Regions from separate parts of the Homo sapiens genome. Here regions 1 and 2 are each linked to region 3. The links are contacts of gene promoters, found by promoter capture Hi-C in blood cells and fetal thymus (Javierre and others, 2016). All regions are on one chromosome and are shown on one strand. Each heading gives the region's core, a stretch centred on a gene start or on the middle of the fragment in contact. The rest is flanking DNA. Distances are from core to core; before and after follow the strand shown.

The links. The method cuts DNA at HindIII sites, captures the fragments that hold promoters and counts their contacts. A CHiCAGO score of 5 or more calls a contact.
Region 1: a fragment that was not itself captured here is called in contact with the fragment with the promoter of LDB3 in region 3 in 1 of 17 cell types (M2 macrophages); the score reaches 5.0 in M2 macrophages.
Region 2: a fragment that was not itself captured here is called in contact with the fragment with the promoter of LDB3 in region 3 in 1 of 17 cell types (M0 macrophages); the score reaches 7.3 in M0 macrophages.

What each region holds. Positions count from the first base shown.
Region 1 is chr10:86,895,089-86,898,289 of GRCh38, forward strand. The region is part of intron 5 of BMPR1A (bone morphogenetic protein receptor type 1A); the gene reads left to right. Among named protein-coding and RNA genes, the nearest start is that of MMRN2, 61 kb to the right of the region's middle. The HindIII fragment of the contact is 9,730 bases long and covers 1-3,201 here.
Region 2 is chr10:86,877,944-86,881,430 of GRCh38, forward strand. All of the region lies in intron 3 of BMPR1A (bone morphogenetic protein receptor type 1A), which reads left to right. Among named protein-coding and RNA genes, the nearest start is that of MMRN2, 78 kb to the right of the region's middle. The HindIII fragment of the contact is 1,246 bases long and covers 1,284-2,529 here.
Region 3 is chr10:86,667,148-86,670,396 of GRCh38, forward strand. LDB3 (LIM domain binding 3) reads left to right here and starts at 1,364. Exons shown (of 14, transcript NM_007078.3): 1 at 1,364-1,423; 2 at 1,522-1,637. The coding sequence starts at 1,545. RefSeq lists an enhancer at 1,495-1,544. The HindIII fragment of the contact is 20,890 bases long and covers 1-3,249 here.

The DNA.
Region 1 (3,201 bases), core at 8-2,507, 230 kb after region 3:
GTGTAGGCTATGTCGGGATATCAAATAAGTGTTTACATGACAGATGGTTTTCAATTGTTTGCTTTCAACCAAGTTGCTGGATCATTGAAAATAATTTTCGATGATAGGATCTTTATGGCACTTTTAGCATATGCTTTGGAAGGACTTTAAACAATTATGGGCTGATCGTGGTGGCACGGTGGCCCCAGCCTGTAATCCCAGCACTTTGGGAGGCCGAGGCGAGCAGATCATCTGAGGTCAGGACTTAGAGACCAGCCTGATCAACATGGCGACACCCCGTCTCTACTGATAATACAAAACTTAGTCAGGCGTGGTGGTGCGTGCCTTTAATCCCAGCTACTTGGGAGGCTGAGACAGGAGAATTGCTTGAACACAGGAGGTGGAGGTTGCAGTGAGCCAAAATCATGCCATTGCACTCCAGCCTAGGCAGCAAGAGTGAAACTCCATCCAAAAAAAAAAAAATTATGGGACAATGGTATAATAGTCTCCTTCCGTGATCATCATCTTGCTTATGTGAATACATTGTCTTGATGATGACAAAAGGAAAAATAAGAATAAGATTAATGATGAATCTTCTCACTCTAGCAGTAATTTTTATTCATGAATTCGTGAACTGATTTGTTTCAAAAGTCCCATCCATATCATTAAGAAATGCCTGGCCAGGTGCAGTGGCTCATGCCTGTAATCCCAGCACTTTTGGAGGCCGAGGCGGGCAGATCGCTTGAGCTCACAAGTTTGAGACCAGCCTGGGCAACACGGCAGAACCCCATCTCTACAAAAATTAGCTGGGCCTGGTGGCTCACGCCTGTAATTCTAGCACTTTGGGAGGCCAAGGCAGGTGGATCACCTGAGGTCAGGAGTTTCAGACTAGCCTGGCCAACATGGTGAAACCCCGTCTCTACTAGAAATACAAAAATTAGCCGGGCGTGGTGGCACACTCCTGTAATCCCAGCTACTTGGGAGGCTGAGGCAGGAGAATCGTTTGAACCCAGGAGTTGGAGGTTGCAGTGAGCCGAGATAGCACCACTGCACTCTAGCCTGGGTAACAGAGCGAGACTCCGTCTCAAAAAAGAAAAGAAAAAAAAAAAAAAAAGCTGAGGTGGGAGGATGACTTGAGCCTGGGAGGCAGAGGTTGTAGTGAGCTGAGATCATGCAACTCCACTCTAGTGTGCGGAGTGATAGCTAGATCTTCTATCATAAAAAAAAAGAAAAAGAAAAAATGCCCTTTCCAATAACATTTTCTTAAGTTTGTATTTAATGAAGATTGTAACATATATATTGTTTTGATCAATTTTATGCTAATAATGATTATGATAAACTAGAATAATTTTCTAAGACTTAAAGACATACAGTTATAGGAAATAAAAGAATTTTTATGTACTTATCTTTGATGTGGACAGTTATATATTACTTTAGGACGTAATTATCATGGGAGATATTGAAAGGAAATAAGAGTTCAAGGAGAAATAAGAGTTCTAGTGTAAAATTTCTCATTGCTAAAAGAAGCATTTGTTCATTTATTCTTTAAAATGATGATAATGGGTATCAAATTGCAATGCTATTTAGATTCTACTGAATGCATTAAAAAATGATGTAACACTTCTATTTCAAAATGAGGTAACAATTCTATGTCAAAGTGTCATTATGTACAGTAAGCCAGAAATTATTAATATATTGCAGCCATTTAAATTTATGGTGAAAATTTTTAAGTGTCACCTGAAAAATACGTGAAGGATACGTTGCTTTTAAGAATTGGGTTACGCCAGCAAGCATTTTGACCAGCACTTATCTAACTTTCTGTATTTCTTGGTAAACGTCACCCAAGCACAGCACTCACCCAAGCACAGCTCTGTCATGCTCATCCTAACCCTTTCCCCAGTGTCTTCACGCACTGCCATGTGTGGCACAGAACAGATGTGAGTGCCTCTCACCAGGCCTCGCGTTCTTCCACTCCCCAGGCTGCATTGGTAAATTGTGCTTATTCTGTTTCCTCCTATAGGACAAATTATTTTTCAGAAACCTCACTGCCATTCCTTGTAACTTGGCGTCAGTTCCTTCCTCATATACTGTCTCCAGCCTGAGCACACTGAATAAGTTTATTTAAGTCAGAATCACTTAATTCATCAGTGCCAAGTAAATTTGTTTCCCACAAAAATTCATATTCCCCACATAAGTCTAGAAATACAAAATTGACTTGGGCAGAGGGTACGGGTGGAGAGTGCAGGAAAAGGAAAGGCTGTGTCACCCAAATTCATAATCTCGACAAACCCAATTTTTGCCTACCCAGATACATAGTTAACCTGAGTAAGACAGACGTGAGATGAGGCAGGTGTTGCTTATTCTTAGTGAAGCCACAATGGGTCTTTAGGGACTTAGAAGTTTTTTGGCTTAGTCTAGAATCTCATCTGGGATTCATGTCAAGCAAGAGGAAGGGAAGTTAATTTATTGAATATTTGTTATATGTGTATAGTATCCTGGGGATTCAGTATATTCTACCTTGTTTCCCCCCAACTACTCTATAGAGCAGATTTTTTTAAAGACAGGGTATTGCTCCATCACCCAGGCTGGAGTGCAGTGGTGCAATCACAGCTCACTGCAGCCTCAACCTCCTGGGTTCAAGTGATCCTCCCACCTCAGCCTCCTGAGTAGCTGGGACCACAGGCGTGTACCACCACACCTGGCTGATTTAAAAATTTTTTTAGAGATGGGGTCTCACTATTTTGCCCAGCCTGATCTCAGACTCCTCCGCTCAAGCCATTCTGCCACTTCAGCTTCCCAAAGTGCTAGGATTACAGGTGTGAGCCACTGTTCCCAGTTCATCTTTTTTTAACCTGTATTTTTTAGCACACTAAAGCCTAGAGATAAATTACTTGCTCAAGTTCACAAAGTGAACAACTGGCAAAGCTAGGATTCAAACTGTTTGATTCCAAAACCCTTGTATTTTCTGTAATACTATGCTCCTTAATCTGTTGGCAGAGTCTATTTTTGGCTTCTTTTTAAAAATTATTATTTTTAGAGATAGGGTCTCACTACATTGCTCAGGCTGGACTTGAACTCCTAGGTTCAAGTGATCCTCATGCCTCAGCCTCCCAAGTAGCCACCACACCCAGTTTAAAGTCTACTTTCTTTCCCTTTTAAAGAAAAGGGACGTATATAACACATATATATATAACATATATATAAACATATATACATGTTTAT
Region 2 (3,487 bases), core at 657-3,156, 210 kb after region 3:
CTACGTAAAAGCAAAAGATCTTATTAAGAATTACATTTCTCTGATAAAGAGTGAAATTTGTTACATTTCCTTTCAAAAAATTATTTTGATAGTTGCTTCAAATAACACACAAATGTTTGCTCTTAAAGCTAAAACCAATGTAGAAAAGTTATTTCTGAGAGATCATTAGGAAGGATTGTAGAATGGTATTAATGGAAATAACTTCTGACTTTAGCTCTAGCTTTATCTTGTTTTGAATTATGTCTCAGGAAAATAAACTTATCTGTACCTTGGTTTCCTTGATGTAAAATAGAAATAATAATGCTTATCCTAGATATAAACAAGAATGTTTTGACCATCAACTGTTAGGGTATAGATTTAAGTGCTTTACATTGAGATAAAGTTACTTAGGTTTGAACAGAAAAATGAGTCATCTGATATTAACAGCTGATAGATACTTAGTTCTTATTTTTTAAGACTTGGTCACAAATTTTACAACAGGATATATTAATGTTGGATAGATATGTAGTCCCTTTTTTGGATTTTGTCACAAATTTCAGAAATGGATTTTAGTTTTAAGTAACTAATAATGACTTCAATAGAGATTTATTTTTAACATAGGTGGTAGATGTTTGCTGTACATTCAGTTATTGAGTAGTGTCAAGGCTGACATGTCTGTAATTTTCTTGACATTTCCCTTGTGGTTCCCAAGTGGTTACTATTATCTGCATTTGAGGCAGGTAAAACGGGGAAAGGGTCAGCACTGGCCTCAACTAGACCTGATACCAGGAAAGCAAAAGTGTCACAGATTTTGTCTTAAGTCTTAATCATTCCTAATAGCAAGAGCTACTGGAAAACAGAGAAACAGGATTGTCACAATTGTCTTAATCTATATCCATTGCCTAGGGCTGGGTGTGTTGTTCCCCCAAACAAAATCAGAGTTTGGTTAGCTGGGAAAAGGGGGAAAATAGGTATCAATTGGACAATTAAAAGGATCTGGGAGAGATTTAATTTTTTCCATCAATTAGAATGTTTTCCTCTACAAATAATTAAAAAAAAATTAAAAGAGCTTAAACATGACATTTTGGGCTAGGTGATTTTTATTTTTTTAAAAAAAAGTTTGAACAATAAAGAGCATGTAGTAACACACAGGAAGTCTGTATATAAGGGGACTGTAGTTGGTTATGTGGCTCATCAAGACCCAAGTTCTTTGTCTTTTCAACTGTGACATCTCTAAATGTCAGGTTAGCCACAGTGTCACAGTGTGGCTGCTGAGAGACTAGACATCACATGCAGATGAGGTAAGCTTGAGTTGACAATGCTCAGTTAAAGAAGAGGGAAATCTGTTTGTGTCTCTTTTTAATTGATAAATCTTTCCCCATTCACTCACTTCCTCTCCCCAACAGACTTCCTTCTAATCTTAGTGGCCAAAATTCATTATATGCTCTTGTGTTAAATCACTGGCAAGGGGAATGGAACTAAAATTGTTGGATTAGACCAACGATTATCTCTGCTGAGAGTAGAGGGCTGCGCTTCCCTGAATCACGTGGAGGAGGGGCAGACCCTTAATGTGTGTGTACATGTGCACATGCCTGTTGCCAGCAAGGGAAGGAGGAGAAGAATAAGAGTATCTGTTGCTGGGTACCACATTTGTTGACCTGACATCATACATATGCTAAAATGCTCATGTTGCTATGAAATTTTCAGTTCCTTTTCAAAGGGTTCTATACCCCAGAGTTGCATCCATTTAGTACATGCAGCTACTAATCCAGGACTTCTGGCTGGTGGGAAGCCCTCTCCTTCGGGTCCAGGTGCCTCTTCATGGTCCAGCAGTGTGTGGCTAAAAGCAATTATCAGTGCACAGTATATCCAGTATCCAGTGATAAAGATGAAGTGGGATAAGTACTATATAAAACTTCCATTCAGAGGAAGAAAAATTGGAAACAACCTCAGTATTCACTGCTCCATAGCATGTAGATTAATGATGCTTAACCTGTTTGTCAGCCTCCAGTTTTATTTTCTGGGAGGATTTGCCTTGTCTCTGGTGTTCCTTGGCTAGTGTTTCTGTCTTCATGGTCACATCTGAGCTGGAATTAGTGGAGGATGATCTTTGTGGAGACTGAACAGCTTTAGCGGCCTGCTTTCTGTTAGTATGGAGGTCTGATTACTGGAAATTGTCCTATGGATTGAAAACTCACAGCCTGACTGAGTCAGCCTGGGATATCTTTGGAAGTACAGTTCCTGTAAAGTTGTAGTGGTCCTACATTCTGTTTGCTCTGATCTCTTTGGTTTCACTCCATTAAACACAGTTAAATATCTTGTCTTGATGTGTGTTCTGAGAATTTCTGACCTAGCCACTGGCCTCTGCTTTGCCTGTTCTCCTGGCCTTTGGTTTAGTGACCTCCGCTCTGAGGCACTCTGCTCCTTTCCCATGCTAGAAAATGACCTGCTTTATTTGGTATTGTAGCACTTACCTATGAATAAATATTAAAATAGTACCAAATGTCAGTATTTATTCATCTTTATTGTCTTTCTCCGTCGAAGACTGTAAGCTTTAATAGATATGGGACTGTGTTTTGTTTACTCTTCTAGTCACCCAGGGCTTAAAACAGTGGCTACCACCGTGTACTCACTCAGTACATTTTGGTTTAATGGATGAATACAGTTAAAGTGAAAAAAGCAAGTTGCAAAGCTGCTTTCTTAGCCATATATTTTTACACTGACCAACCCAGTAACAACAAGCACCTGTAACAACCCAGTTGTAGTATCTGATTGTCTTTTTTCACTAAGGATCTAGAACTCCTTGGAGAAATCACTGAGTTCAAGTTCGGCAGGGAAAGAGCAAGGTGATCTTGGTATTTTGGCCAGAAAGCAAGGAAAAGTTCAAAGGATTCAGTGACCAGTTTGAATTGAATACTAATTGTAGTGGATTCAAACAAATCAAATATGTTTAAATCCACGTGTTTGTAATAACACTTAAGAAAAAAACTAGTTAGGGCTGAGGGCTGTGACTTACACCTGTACATGCCAACACTTGGGAGGCCAAGGCAGGAGGATCACTTGAGCCTCAAGAGTTTGAGAACATCCACGGCTAAACTGAGAGTCCCTTTAAAAAAAAAATAGTTTGAGACCAGCCTGGGCAACATAGAGCTGGTCTCTACAAAAAAAAAATTTTAATTAGCTGAGTGTGGTGATGTGTGCCTGTATTCCTGGCTGAGGTGGGCGGGAGAATCACTTGAGCCCGGGAGCTTGAGGCTGCAGTGAACCAATGATGACGCCACTGCACTCTAGTCTGGGCAGCAGAGCAAGACTCTGTCTCAAAAAAAGAAAACAAAACTAGTTGGTTACTGTTAAAAGATGCTAATGAAGTCATTAATTTTGAAAACTGGTAAATAGAGGGAGAAATCAAACATTAATCTTGCCTTTCTAACATGAACTGTGCCACCTGTATCCAATTAGTAGGTGAGGGAAAGCATCTCATAGATGTATTCCAAGTCATAAAAAAGAG
Region 3 (3,249 bases), core at 114-2,613:
TGATAGTTTTGTGACTTTGGGCAAGTGACAAAACAACCCCGTAATATGGGTGATCCTACCTTGTACCTTGCATGTGCCAGGCCCCAGGAGTGAGGCTAGAAGCTGAGAAATGACTCACACCCAGGCCTCTACTGACTCCTCAGGGTCCAAGCCAGACCCCTCCAAGAGGGCCAGCAAGCAGCCAACCCAGTTGCCTCCCCTGAGCCTCAGTTTCTCCAACCAAGGAGCCAGGGTGGGCCTTGATCTATCTCCAGACCACATAGGGGCCTGAGGTCTTTCTTGGGGAAGGGGTTGGCCCAAAGACCGCACTGGCAGAAGTCCCAAGGTGCTGAGGCCCCCATCCAGAACACACTGTCTCTGGGGTACAGGCTGAACATGCCACACGTGCTTCCCCCTCCCTGCCCCTCCTGGCCCTGTGTCTAGCAGCTGAGCAAATGGCGTCTCCTCCCTTCTCCCTGCCCCCTGCCATTCCTGCGCAAAGGGCACGGGGCCTGGCGTGTGGCACTGGCAGCTGGAGCTTTCCATGCTGCCGTCAAGTTTTCCAGAGCACAAAGACAGGAGAGCCAGGAATAACTGGCTGGGCCCCCAGAGGGTCTGGAGGGGATGGGCCTGCCTCAGACCTGCTTTCAGACCCTATGCCAAGGGGTGCAGGCAGAGGGCCAGCTGCCCAGGACCAGGGCTTTGGGAGGCTTCTGTGGCTACTGGGAGCCCATTATCTGGCATGCATTCTGTAGGAATCAGCCCAGGCTCCAGTGTGACCTGGGTCCACTCCTTGTGTGACCTTGGAGAAGTCATTTAACCTCCCTGAGCTTTGTCTCCTGCGGGCCCAGGTGGCAGCTTCTCAGGATCCCAGGGAGTGAAGGGCCCATACTGAGGTTGGCTATGCCCAGAGCTGCTGTTATGATGATCGTTTTTATGGCTGGACAACCCTGGGCCAGTCACAGACCAGCTGGAGGCTCAGCTCAAGCCAAGGCACCTCCAGGGCCCCATACTGGATAAAGCACAACCCCAGAATCCTGGCCAGGGACCACACGGCAGCAAAGCCCCTACCCAAGGGAGCTCAGCCCCTGGTCTTCTGAGCAAGAGGATGGGTACCACTGGGCAGGAAGAGCGAGTGTCTACGCTCTCCAGAGGACACAGGAGCAAGGAGACCAGAGCATTCTCACCAACCAGGCCAGTTCCCCTTCCTCCCCCCTGGGGGGTGCTGGGTGCCGGACACCCCTCCCCAGGGGCTATATTAGCCGTGTGAGTCATGGTGGACCGGCTGGGAGGCGGCAGGCTGGCAGGCACAGTGTAGGGTTACAGTCCATTTATGGGCGCAGCCGAAGGCAGATATCAGTGTCGATGGCATTCGCTCCCAGCTATTCTTAGGAGCCTCTCAAGAGCTCCACGCAGCCCGGCTGGGCAGCAAGGGACAGAACAGGCAAGGCTGGGGGTCAGGGGCAGGGGCAGAGGTGTGGACCGGGCAGGCGGAGTGCCTGAGTGCCCTCTCACTCAACCCTCTCTACCCTTTGTCTGCAGAGGCGGCCGCTGACAGCACCAGCATGTCTTACAGTGTGACCCTGACTGGGCCCGGGCCCTGGGGCTTCCGTCTGCAGGGGGGCAAGGACTTCAACATGCCCCTCACTATCTCCCGGGTGAGTGCACCCTGCCACAGCCTGGCACCCGATGGGGCAGGCACGCTTGGAGGAGGGCATGTGTGTCCGTCTGTCTGTCTGTCCTTTCTGAGCCTCTCAGAAAGCAGAGCATGCCCCATCCCCTGGGACTGGCCTGGTCCTCTGGTCTCAGCCACAGCTGTTTGCTCACTGGAGCGCGCCGGCCTGTTATGCATGTGAGACATCATGAGCAGGTGGTAGGTGTTTTTAGCAGAGAAGAAAATGCTGAGTTTTCAGGCAGGCAGGCAGGCAGGCAGGCAGGTAGCTGGACAGAGAGTACAGCACCTTCCTGATCCCTTTACTGTTAGAGTGGGCTCAGGGTGCCCCCAAGCCTTGAGCATTTCCCTAGATATGGGCAGCTGCTTTGGGAAGGGAGTATTCCCAGCATGGAGAGGGCAGGTGATGGGCAGTTGGATAGATGGACAGACAGACGGTTGACCTTGGCTGCCCAGCTGTCAGAGTGTGGGGCTGGGCTGGACTGAGTACTGGGCACCTGCTCCATCCCAAACTTGAGACACCAAGACCCTGGCTCATGGGGCTGGGCGCTTCTCCCCATTCACCATGGCTGCTTTGTCTGTCTCAGGTCTTGTTCCCCACAAGTGCTGGGGCCTGGTGAGATGGCCCCCTATCCTGCAGTGTCTGTGATGGGGAGCAGCATGGCCTGATGCAGATGACACAGAACATCAGGGGTTGTCTGAGTAACTCTACCGCCTGGCTGGAGACAGCAACACCAGAGAGGCAGAAAGTTAGCCATGCTCCTGAGGAAGCACTCCAGGAGCAGGGACTGATGGGGGAACAGCCCCCAGACCGTAGTAGGCACTCCGTCAGTTTCTGTCAAACAAAGAGACTCCCCAGCAAGGCACTGGTAGACCCAGGGCTGAAGGCCCCAAGGCTCAGGGCGAACTGTGAGGCATACAGGGCAAGGACAACCCTGCCTGGTGGCTGAGCCCCTGACCGTGCTGTTCCGGGCACAAGGCCAGAGGGGGAGGCCCCCAGTCTGTCACTGGAGGGTGGTAGGTAGGCAGGGGTATCTGGGCTACTGCCCACCAGGGGAACAAGGGGACAGTTTCTTCTCTGGGGCCTTAAGGACTTGCCTTGGGCCTGGGGGCTGGAGGAAGGGGTTGGAGGGGAAGCACTGAAGTGGGCAAGGCCTGAAGGGGCTTGGCAGAGGGGCCAGGGAACCTGGGCAGCGGGTCAGGAGCCAATGCCCCCAGTGGAGGAGTAATCTTTTTTTTGTTCCACGGGTACTTGAGGGGACCCCAGAAGTAGAAGCCCCACCCAGGGATGCCGTGAGAGCCTTATAATAGCCATAGAGGCCACATGCTTACAGGAGGGGTGCTGGCCTGGCTCTGGTGCAGGGAACAGGCCCTGACCTCCATCCTTCAGTTGCAGATGTGGCTTGTTCTAACCTGGAGATTCCACCCCTCCAGATCTACTGCCCTGGAGACCACAGGGTCCTGGGCACCCACAGCCTTGCACACTTTGCATGAGGTGGTGACCTGTGAGCATGTGAGCCCCAGTGGATTTCCCACTGCCCTTTCCCACAGCTCCCCACCCCCATGCTTGCAGGACTCCTTCCTGTATAAGGTGGAGC